Linked DNA regions of Homo sapiens: region 2 is linked to region 1. The links are contacts of gene promoters, found by promoter capture Hi-C in blood cells and fetal thymus (Javierre and others, 2016). All regions are on one chromosome and are shown on one strand. The core of a region is centred on a gene start or on the middle of the fragment in contact, and the rest is flanking DNA. Distances in the headings are between cores, read along the strand shown.

The links. The method cuts DNA at HindIII sites, captures the fragments that hold promoters and counts their contacts. A CHiCAGO score of 5 or more calls a contact.
Region 2: a contact is called between a fragment that was not itself captured here and the fragment with the promoter of NSMCE3 in region 1, in 2 of 17 cell types (non-activated CD4 T cells and activated CD4 T cells). The highest score is 12.4, in non-activated CD4 T cells.

Annotation. Positions count from the first base shown.
Region 1 is chr15:29,266,775-29,272,099 of GRCh38, forward strand. NSMCE3 (NSE3 component of SMC5/6 complex) reads right to left here and starts at 3,048. Exons shown (of 1, transcript NM_138704.4): 1 at 1-3,048. The coding sequence starts at 2,931. The coding sequence ends at 2,017. The region is part of intron 2 of ENTREP2 (endosomal transmembrane epsin interactor 2); the gene reads right to left. RefSeq lists enhancers at 2,343-2,844, 2,845-3,344. The HindIII fragment of the contact is 8,019 bases long and covers 1-4,544 here.
Region 2 is chr15:31,867,347-31,872,671 of GRCh38, forward strand. OTUD7A (OTU deubiquitinase 7A) reads right to left here and starts at 3,327. Exons shown (of 13, transcript NM_001382637.1): 1 at 3,161-3,327. RefSeq lists silencers at 500-794, 3,290-3,359. The HindIII fragment of the contact is 3,736 bases long and covers 1,353-5,088 here.

The sequences.
Region 1 (5,325 bases), core at 1,798-4,297:
CTGGGGAGGGTGAGAAGGAAAAGATATAAGGCCTTGATGTGGCCTCTGATGTTTCATATTTTAAAATTTGAAACAAGATTATCGATGGTAAATTGCTAACACCTCTGAGAAAAGCGGGGGGAATTTTGCCTCAGATATAACTGGTGGTGACTGCTGGGTAATAATTTTTATTATACAGGTGAGAATGCGAGTATCAGAGGGCATGAGGAGGAGAAAGCTGAGTCAGGGAGGTAAGGGGACCAGGAGGCAGGAAGGAGTTTATACACTGAAATAAAATGCAGATCAAGAAGAAATGCCTGTAAGGGCCAAACATATTCCACTGATGAAACAAATGCAAATCCCAATTCAACAGAATGAAATAAAACCCAGTAACCTATCACATTCCTCCATACTCACTATAGACTCTTTTAAATGACATTCCGTCCAGTGTTGATGAAGTTCACTTTTTTCCCCGAGTTAAAAATATTTGCCTTATTTCAAGGTTAATTTGCAGCACCTCCCCCTAAAACAATTAACTTATTTGCCCACTGAATAAAACGTGTTGAATCTCTGCATTAAAAACAGCATCTGCTACACGTAATGGAGGAACACAATGGGACTATGAACTCTTCTAGTTCATTTAGTGCATAAAACTATTATATAGCTATTATTTTTCTCATTTTACAGATAAATTGAGATTCAGAGAGCTTAAAACCTACCCCCACAACCACCATGCTGACAAGTTAGCATGAGCCGTAATTCAAATTCAGTTTGCCAGACAGCCCCAAGACCCATACCCTTTTCCCTATACCTAACTCCCTAGGAGGTAGATCTTATGTCCTGCTCTTATGTTCTATGTGGGGCACACTCACCATACACGTTATATTTCCCCATACAATAGAGTGAGACTAGAGGACTATCTTTTGAACCAGGAATTGCTCTCCTAGGAATGATTTGGAAAAAAAGATAAAGAAAAGTTATATTTAAAAAGTGGCAGCTCCAGACCAAGGAGAATAAAAAATAAAAACATTAAAGAATAACAAATAAAATTCTCCACATCACGGACTAAAACCATTTTACAGGTCAAGAAACATCTGCATACAAACTAAGGAACCTATGTAAATTCATATACTAGTTATGGTGGGGCCAGGATCTCAACCCAGACAGTCCGATTCCCAAACAGGCATGGTTAATGGTTACGCTATTGTTTTATAAGCCTTTTTGAGATCCACAGTGAGAAATATATTTCACCTCATGATCCTGATTTTGTTTCACACAAAAGTGAAACAACTTCTACAAAACAGCATTGACCTTAATATGTAGCAAAAACTTTAAGATGTTGATTTCCAGTCATGAAATTCTCTCATGACCCACGATTTAAAAAACACACAATGCTTAAGTGCTTCAAAAATACAGTATTTATTGTAATAACTACAGTAGCAAGAAGAAAAAAACGAAGTGGAACTACGTGTTTAGCAGCAGAGCTGAATAATTATGAATATAAACAATTACTATTGGGAGAAAATACATTACACTCATTGCTTGGAACCATGAATAATACTTATATATGTACGAAATATAGAAAAATAAAATAGGTTAACATAATAAGGATATAGGCAATTATTTTTTTTAATTTTATAAAAACTTTTATTTTTCCTTACAAACTGGGGTAGTTAGGAGACCTGATAATAGCTTTTTTATTTTCTTGGCACCAAAGCAACTTACTTATGTGTTCCTTCTTGCATTATCTGTTCCAGATCATAGTCAAGTTTTCCAATTCGTTTTACTAAGCTAGCAAAATTTTTTATACCAAAAAGAGTAAAATCAAAACAAATGCTCCTTTGTTTATAGATGAAAATCTGGAGCAAAATAACACAACATTAAAAAAACAAAACTTTGCAAACACATCCTAAAGCTACACACATTGAAGCGTTTACAGCAATATGCTCCCTGGGTTCGTTCTCCCTTCCCCCAATCCTCTAAACTGTGCCTTTGGGTCTCAGACCCTTGTCCCGGGGGTCCCTCTGAATCCACCTTTCAAGAGGATGGAGCTGGGCCACTAGGCTGAGGTCTGGCCCTGTTCTCCTCATCTGCCAAAGCCTCACAGTACTGCGCTGGCCAGTCCTTGGGGTCTTGATTATGGACCTTGGCCACAAACTTAAGAACTTTCATCTTGCTGGTTTCCAGGTTGGTTCGCGGGCCCCACTGGAATTCGTAGTCGACGGGGTCGGTGTGGGGTATCCGCCGGTATTCCAGGTAACGCTGTCGCACAAAGTCCTCAGTAATGAGTTTCTTTGGATCTCCGAAAATTAAATGCTTCTTGGTGGGGTAGACCCCTAAGCGCCGCAGAAAGTCCCAGGCTTCAGTTTCCTTGATGGTGTTGCCCTTCATAAAGATGAGCCCTAAGACGATCATCAGGAGGCCCGTAGTGGGCGTGCCTTGGTCACCCCTCATCTCGGCATCCTCCTCCACAGGCTCCAGGGTGTTGATGAGGATGTAAGTGTTGCTCTTGGGTTCAAGTTCCACCAGCTTATACCCGAAGACGTACTGGAGGCGCTCGGCGGCCCGTTTGAAGAGGTCGGGGAAGATGTCCTTGTAGTCCCCGATGACGTGCTTCAGTATGTCGGCCCGCTTGATCGGAATCTTCTTCTGGTCTTTAATCAGCAAGAACTGCACCAGCTCGGACACTTTCAGCTCCAGCTGCTTCTGGCTCCTGGGCCCCACGGCGGGGGCGGCCTGGGCCCGGCGGGCGCCCTGAGGCGAGGGGCCCTGCGACCCCTGCGAGCCGCCCGGCCCGCGGGACGTGCTCGGGGCCTCCTCGGCAAAGCCGTCTCTGAGAACCCGGGCGTCTTCCCCGGCCCGCGAAGCCCCGGGGTTTCCGCTATGGCTCCAGTCTCTGTCCCTCTCGGCCTGGCCGCCAGAGCGGCCCCGGTTCCTCGGTTTTTGCAACATGTCTCCGGCGGCAGGTGCCGGCGCACACTCCGGTAGGCAAGCAGCCGCGGCGGGGATTGCGGGTCGGCGACCCGCTAACGCCGGTGCCTGGAGGCGCGCGCAGTGTCGGCTGAGACTGCGTGCTGCGTCATGAAGCCTGCGCCTTGCGTCAGGGCGGCTGGGCGGTGCGCCTGCGCGGCTGCGGCGGGTACCAAAAGGAACAGCGTTTTCCGTGCAGCCCTGCAGGTCCGGGCGATGATTTTTAGTATAGTGAAGTGTTGTTACCAAACCATGCAAACAGAGAGCGAGAACCGAAACTCCTAAACAAGTGTGTCGCTAAATTCAGACCACACAGGCTCAGGCAAGTTTTACAGACAGTATTATGAGTTTCTAAATCGGGAGCATTTGTAAACGGAAAGAATTCAGAGGATGAACGTGTGAGAAAAAAAAAAGGTGAAGAGGAAGGGCCGACCGTGGAAGTAAAGTAAAAACATTTATTTCTACACAAAATGTAGAAGGACATAAAAGACCCAGAGGGCTCTTAGTTTTCGTCCCTCCACCCAATTTCATACCCTCCATCCCACTGCCCCCAGTTACTTTCTCTAATGCCCCGTGGAGTCTGTTAAAAACCAAAGTCGGCTGCAGGCTTTCTGCGCAAGCAGGACTTCAGTTTCACTATTTCCGTATTTATATTCTCTGCATTAAACTCCTTTAGCTAGACAACTATGAGAAGACCACAAAAAACGTGTCAGTATTAGGTAAATGTTTTAGCTTGGTCACATGGGTTTATCTTTTGGAAAACAACTGCTTTCGTCACAACCACAATTTTAGCAGAAATGGGTAAGAGGAATGCTGCAAACAAACGTGCACTCTCAAGAGATTACTACTTAATTTGGGGCATCACTGATCAAGAATTGCAATAATGTGGAGCTCTTAAATTTCTTAATTCATAATATATTAGCTTTGAGGAAAAAAAAGAGAACACTGGGGGATTTATCTCTCATCTATGATGTGATATACAGTCTCTACTGTATATTTTAATTGTGCAACTCAAGTAGCCAAAATGAGTCATTTCATTAACTCAAACCATCAGCAGTCTGCTGCCATGACTTCTACAGATCTTAGCAAATTTGTTTCTTCTCTATTTACTTGCAAAGAAGAAACTGAATTTCCCTGTGTCTTTTTAAAGCTACCCAGAAAGTGGATAAACTCTTCAAAGAACCAAATTGAGTTCCTCTTTAATGCAAATATATTCAAAGGAAAGCAATTTAGAACACATTATCTGAGTAATAGCATCAAACACAACCTTATTAAAATTTTGTTAATTGTTAGTAGCATAACACTTTTGTTTGTAATTCAGTAGGAAAATGCAATCTGATAATGGCACTGGAACTGCAATAGTAAATGTAAAATCATATTCCATGAACTAATGCAAGTATGCTAAAATCTGGTATGCAATGAGTAATAACTTACTGTTCCACACAAGATGCAACTATATCCTCAGGCATCAATTTTAATGACAAAGGCCTACTATGAAAAACAAATATATTATCAAGGCATTCATTTTTTTACAATGAGAAAATTCATCTGCTTCAGTTTCCTTGCAAATTAAAATCTGGACTTAGGTTCATAGAAGCTTCCTGCCATCTAGAATTCTGCAAAAGGTCCCTACTGCAGGATGTGGATGTTGTATTGAGGGAATAGAGAGACCGTCTCATATTGTTTTATATTGTTTTATACTCAGTACCTGTTTTAAGAAAAAACAACAAGGAAGTAAAACCAAATACAGGCAGCCCAGCGCCAGGCCCAAAACCAGGCCTGGGCCTGCCTGGCCTAAACCCAGTAGTTAAAAATCAACTCATAACTTAGAAACCGATGTTATTCATAGATTCCAGACATTGTATAGAAGAACATTGTATAAAGAACAGAACTGCCCTGTTCTGTTTCTCTCTGACCACCGGTGCATGTAGCCCCTGTCACATACCGCCTGCTTGCTCTGATCAATCACGACCCTTTCATGTAAAATCTTTAGTGTTGTGAGCTCTTTAAAGGGACAGAAATTGTGCATTTGGGGAGCTCGGATTTTAAGGCAGTAGCTTGCCGATGCTCCCAGCTGAATAAAGCCCTTCCTTGTGCAACTCGGTGTCTGAGAGATTTTGTCTGCGGCTCGTCCTGCTACAGTGCCTTGAGTCAAAAAAGTTCAGTGACCGAGATATAAGGGGAAAGTGGAAAATTAGATAAAAGCTATTGTCAACAGTTGGGCTGGTTTTTCAGTGCTCTTTCTTGCTAAGGTATTCATGTACGTTACCAAGCAGCCCACCAGTCAGACTACCCCTGTCACTGTGAAAATCAGCAGTGTCCTCCAGCAGCACGCTTACCTAGATAGCAGACTGTCATTACTCAAGATAGAGGAGA
Region 2 (5,325 bases), core at 1,971-4,470, 2.6 Mb after region 1:
ACGTCATGGAAATAAATGTGGCACCATCAGAAGGTCAGAGGCCATGACTTGCACACAGCTTGCTCAGAGCAAAGTGCCCCTTCCCTCCTCCACCAGGCTTGGGGGCCACAGGAATTACTTCCTAAGTGGACATCCGCCACCTATAATTCAGTGCAAGGGGTCAAATAGGCCCCTCTGGGAAGTACTACCACACAGGGTCCCAGGGCCTAAGTCAATCGGGAGTCAAAGCCAGGAGCAAACATCAAGGGTGTGCAGGAGAGGATTTCCACGGGGTTGCCCTGGCTGGCACATTCACGCCATGACCAGGACACCAGCCTGTAGTTCACTGAAGTCAACTTTCTCCTCTCCAAACTAACACTCACTTCCGCAGTCTGAGAAGGCACTCAATCCTGAGACTCAAAGTGTGCTAAGAGCCACCTTCCAAAGACATGGAGCCACTGAAGCAATCTCTGCTAGGGAGGCCTACATTCCAGACTCCACAACCTCTGGTCATTCAAGTATGTGCCCCCAACCCTTCCTTAAGTTTCCATCTCTTGGAAGACAGGCATGCGGGAGCGGAGGGGGAGGGGCGGGGGGCGGGGGCGGAGCACACCGGCGCACACACATGCACCCACCTCAACTTGGAGATCCACTCCCAAGGTGGCTCTGACACAGGCCCGCCAAGCCGCGTTTAGCACGCCCCCTGCTGGCCCACAAGAGCTAATTCAACCTTTCTTCCGTGGGCCTAAGGCATGAATAAATGACCTTAATATCCCAAAGGGAACAGAAAGAAAATCAGGGCAATTTTTACTTCTTAGAAACGGAAGATGTGACAGTGATCTCTTTTGGGAAATCACTGACAACTCCCAAATTTAAGCACTCTAAACATACAAGCGGGATGAAGAGGCTTTAAAGCGGTTGTTTTAAAATGTTTTGGGGAAATAAGTGACCCATACCTAAAGATTTAGTGGAAACACTTCCGTTTGAAGTTTTACTAGTACTACAGCGAGTTAAACCATAAACGTGGTGAATATTTTCACGAGTCTACAGGTGAAAACAAAAAGATGGATACGGGGCCAGATTGATTTCACAGACTCCATTTTCAAAGAGTTTGCAATGCAGACCCTGAAAAACCAATCTTCATACTATTGAGGACATGTTGTAAAGAAGAATCTCTGCCACAACTCAAGAGTTAAGTTCTACAGCAACTACACACAGCGGGAGCAGTGTCATCCAAAAGCAGCTCACTTGGAGCCAGTTTCTCATCTCACTTAGGCACACCATTGGGAATAAATGCGGCACCATCAGGAGGTCAGAGGCCAAGAATTACACACACTTGCTCAGAGAAAGGTGTCCCCTCTCCTTCTCCACCAAGCTTGGGGGCCTCAGGAGTTACTTTCTAAGGGAAAACCTGCCATCTATGATCCAGGCCCAAGTGAGACCCGCACGTGGCAATACTTCGTAAAGCGGCGATTTCCACCCATTATCAGCCTGAACACTAAAGGCCTAAGTAACCACTGTTTTCCCATTCTTTTCACACCAATACAGGGTTCAAGAGATTGAAGTTCCTAACCAGGTCCCAACTTTTGAGTGGCATATGGTATTAAATTCCTTACAGATCCAATAAAATCACACTAACAATTTAAGGCATGCTTATTTTAACCAATTAGGAGGTGTCATTAATTATTAAATACAAAAATGTCAATACTTTTGTCCCTTATTGGATATCCTTTCGATATGATAGGCTTGAGTAGATACTCAGATTGCCTTGGGAACTTGCTTAGTTTTGTTCCCATAAGAATTGGTACTAATGGCACACTCACAATAAAATAATGGAGTGTTGATCCCATTTAGTGGGGAATGTTTATCCAGAACTGAGTGTGCCGTGCAGATCTACCTCTGTTCTCGTGAACCCTCTTTGGGTCTTGAAGAGGCCTTTGAAGCTGGTGGGACACACGGCTGCTGGGAGGACCCTAGTGAACCTGCCTCCCCGCCTTCGCCCAGGGCAGGCTTCTCCGGGCACACCCTGGAGGAGGAGGAGGAGGATGGTGAAGGACACCTGCAGATTTTCCTGAAGCAATTAAGACCTGTAAAGATTTAGGCCCCGCTGTCAACCTTTTCCTGGACACATTATCTGCCTCATCATATTTTTAAAAATTGTTCCTCTTACAGCCCACTTCCATTTACAAAGGTATCACCTGGCGGTAACCATGTGCATGTCATACATGACTTTCCCCTGGATCCTTGTGCTGTGGATGAAGCGTTTCCCTGATCGGGGTCTCACAAGTTTCCCTTCAGCTACTCTTAAATCTATACATTCTCAAGCCAATAGACAGAAATAAAAGTCATTTGCACTTGTGTGAGGTAGCTGAGTTTACAGAGCAGAGGCAAATCCATTTTATTACAGAGATTCTCAAAGGGCTGCAATAGCTTCACCGGGAGGGAGGAGGGTACACTTGAGCGGTTGTGTCCAATGAAGGAAAGTTTTAGTTAATGATGACATCACTGACATCTCCCAAATTTAAAGGAGCACTTAAAGCACCGCAGATGCAATTTTTTCCCCTCCAGTGAGGAGATACTAGGGAAGGCCTCTGGGTTCACAGCCAAATTGCCTTAATGGTTTGCCTGCTGTCCAGCGAGACCCAGCAGAGCGAGCGGGACGGCGGTGCGCCGGGCCGCGGGGACCCACGCAGTCACAGCTCCGGTGCCCGGCGAGCGGCCTCGCGCGCGGCTCGGGGCCGGGCCCTGCCCGGCCGTCTGCAAGAGCCGCGGGACCCCCGACGCGCGCGCACGGACCGAGGGGTCGGTCGCCCCACGCCTGGCATCACGTTCCAGTGCGGACAGCCAAAGGGCTGAGCGGAGGCAGCAGCCCCGACCCAGCGGTAGCGCCGCGCCCTGCCCGAGAGAGGCGCGCCACGCCGGGCCGGAGCCGGTGGCCCGGGAGCCCGCGGGGTCCGGAGCGGAGCCCGCAATGCAGACGCGCCGGCGAGCCCAGCCGGGGCCCGCGCCCCCCGCGTCCCCGCGCCCCGGCCCCGCGGTCGCCCGGCCTCAACGCCCACCTGCCTCGCCACGGAGCTCGGGAAGGAGACGGCGCCGGCCCCGCGCCCGGAGAGCGCACCTGCCTGGTCCGCGGGCCCGGCCCCGCCGCCCGCCGGCAGCACCGCGGCCAGCGCCGTCTTACCTGCCGCGCCGCGCCGCTCCGCTCCGCCAGCCCGCAGCGCCGCAGTCGCCGCTACCCGACTTCCATTTTCTCTCGCTTTAAAGGAAAACCAGATCAGCTGTTTTGCTCCCGCTCGGGCTCCGCGGCCCCCTCCCCAGCTGCCGCTCGCGGTCCCGGTGGCCTCTCCTCCCCCGCCTCCTCCCGCGCTCCGCTCCGCCCCTCGCGCCCCTCCGCTCCGCCCGCGGCCGCGCACAACGCCCGCCTCCCGGCTCCGCCTGCTGCCTCCGGGCGCGCGCCCTCCTCTGACGTCACCGGTCGCGTTCGCGCCCCGCCCCCGCCCCGCGCGGACGTGCGCGCGCCGCGCCTGTGCCCCGCCCCCGCCCCTCCGGGGCCGGGCACGGAGAGCGCGTGCTCGCGGCCGCGAGCCGAGGAGGGGACGTACAGCGCCCGCGCGCCCGCGAGCCCGCTCCGGCTCTCCCATGCTTGCCCCTCGGGGTGCTCCTTCTGCGCTCTCCGCCTGGACTGCAGGAAAAGGCTGCTTAAACAGCCTGCCTTTTCCTGCTGCCTGACTCGCGCCATCTGCGGCCACCTGTCTCGTTTCTTCCCCCTGGCTGGCGCACCCTTCCTTCCTAAACATCCCAAACTTTCTCCCACCCAGGCTGTCCAGGCTGCAGTTTCTACGCCCTGCGCTGGGGCCTGTGCATCACGCCTAATCCAAAGCTGGTCCTTTTACCTCCCAAAAAGGTTCTCTGACCTTTTCCCATTTTTTGCCTTCCTCTAAAGACTTTTTCACGCCACCCCTTCAGATGGTTCCCCTCCCTGATGGCAAGACCTGCTCGCTGCTCTGGGCCCTTCTCACGTCACCCTGTAGATGTAGTCACGCTTCCTTATCCCAAACAGGACGTTATATTGCAGATGACCCATACCATCCTGGTGTACTTCTAAACAATCATTATTTTACTTTTAGTTTAGGACTTTTTGCTTGACTTTAAACATTGTATATGTTTAATAGTGTTTAATAATTTATTTGACTTTTAAAATTGATATTCAGTAAAATTGGTTATTTGATATATAATCCTGTGATCTTGAACCCTTGTTTGGATTCATGTAACCACTAGCGCAATAAAGAGCTCCCTAGTTCTGCCCTTTTATAACAGCGCCCCCGCCAACCCTAACTTTTGGTAACCACTGATAGGTTCTCCATTGCTACGGTTTTGTCTTTGTGAGTGTGTCGTATACATGGAATTACGCAATATGTAACATTTTGAAACTGACTTTATTCCCTCATCATTATACCTTGGAGATTCATCCATGTTATTGTGTATAGTAATAGTCCTTTTTATTGTTGAGGGGAGTCTCATTATTTGTACCACATTTTGTTTAGTCACCCACTGGAGAATATTTGCGTGGTTTCCAGTTTTTGGCGACTGTGAATAAACATTCTATAAACATTTGCATGCAGCGTTTTGTACGGACAAATTTTTTAAATTAGTTGACTAAATATCTAGGAGTGCAATTGCTAGATCTTATGGTAAATTTGTTTAACTTTATAAGAACCAAACAGTTTTCTAGAGTGGCTATAGCATTTTTATAACTGTCAGCAAATATGAATCCCTTTCCTTCATCCTCACCAGCACTTGATATTGGCTATCTTTATCTATCTATCTGTCCATCCATCCATCCATCCGTCTATCATCTATAATTTTAGACATTCTAGTAGGCATATAGTGCTATATCGTTGTTAATTTTCAATTTTCTACTGAAAAATTATGTGGAGCAACTTTTCATATGCACCTGTATATCTTCTTTGGTGAGATGTTTGTTCACATCTTTTGCCCATTAAAAAAAAAAGGTTGTTTTCTTATGGTTGAGTTTTAAGAGTTCTTTGTGTATTTTGGATAGAAGTACTTTATCTGATACGTGTTTTGCAGGTATTTTCTTCCAGTGGAAGCTTGTCTTTTCATTCTCTTAACAGTCCTGTCCTGAATTTAGGGGAAGTATCCAGTTTCTTACCACTAAATATGATGTTAGCAGTAGGATTTTTTTAGTTCTTCTTTATCAAGATTAGGAAGTTCTCTCTATTCCTAGTTTGCAGAGTTTTTATCATGAATGAATGTTGGATTTTGCCAAATTCGTTTTCTGCATCTATTGATACGGTCATGTGATTTTATTTTCTTTAGCTTGTT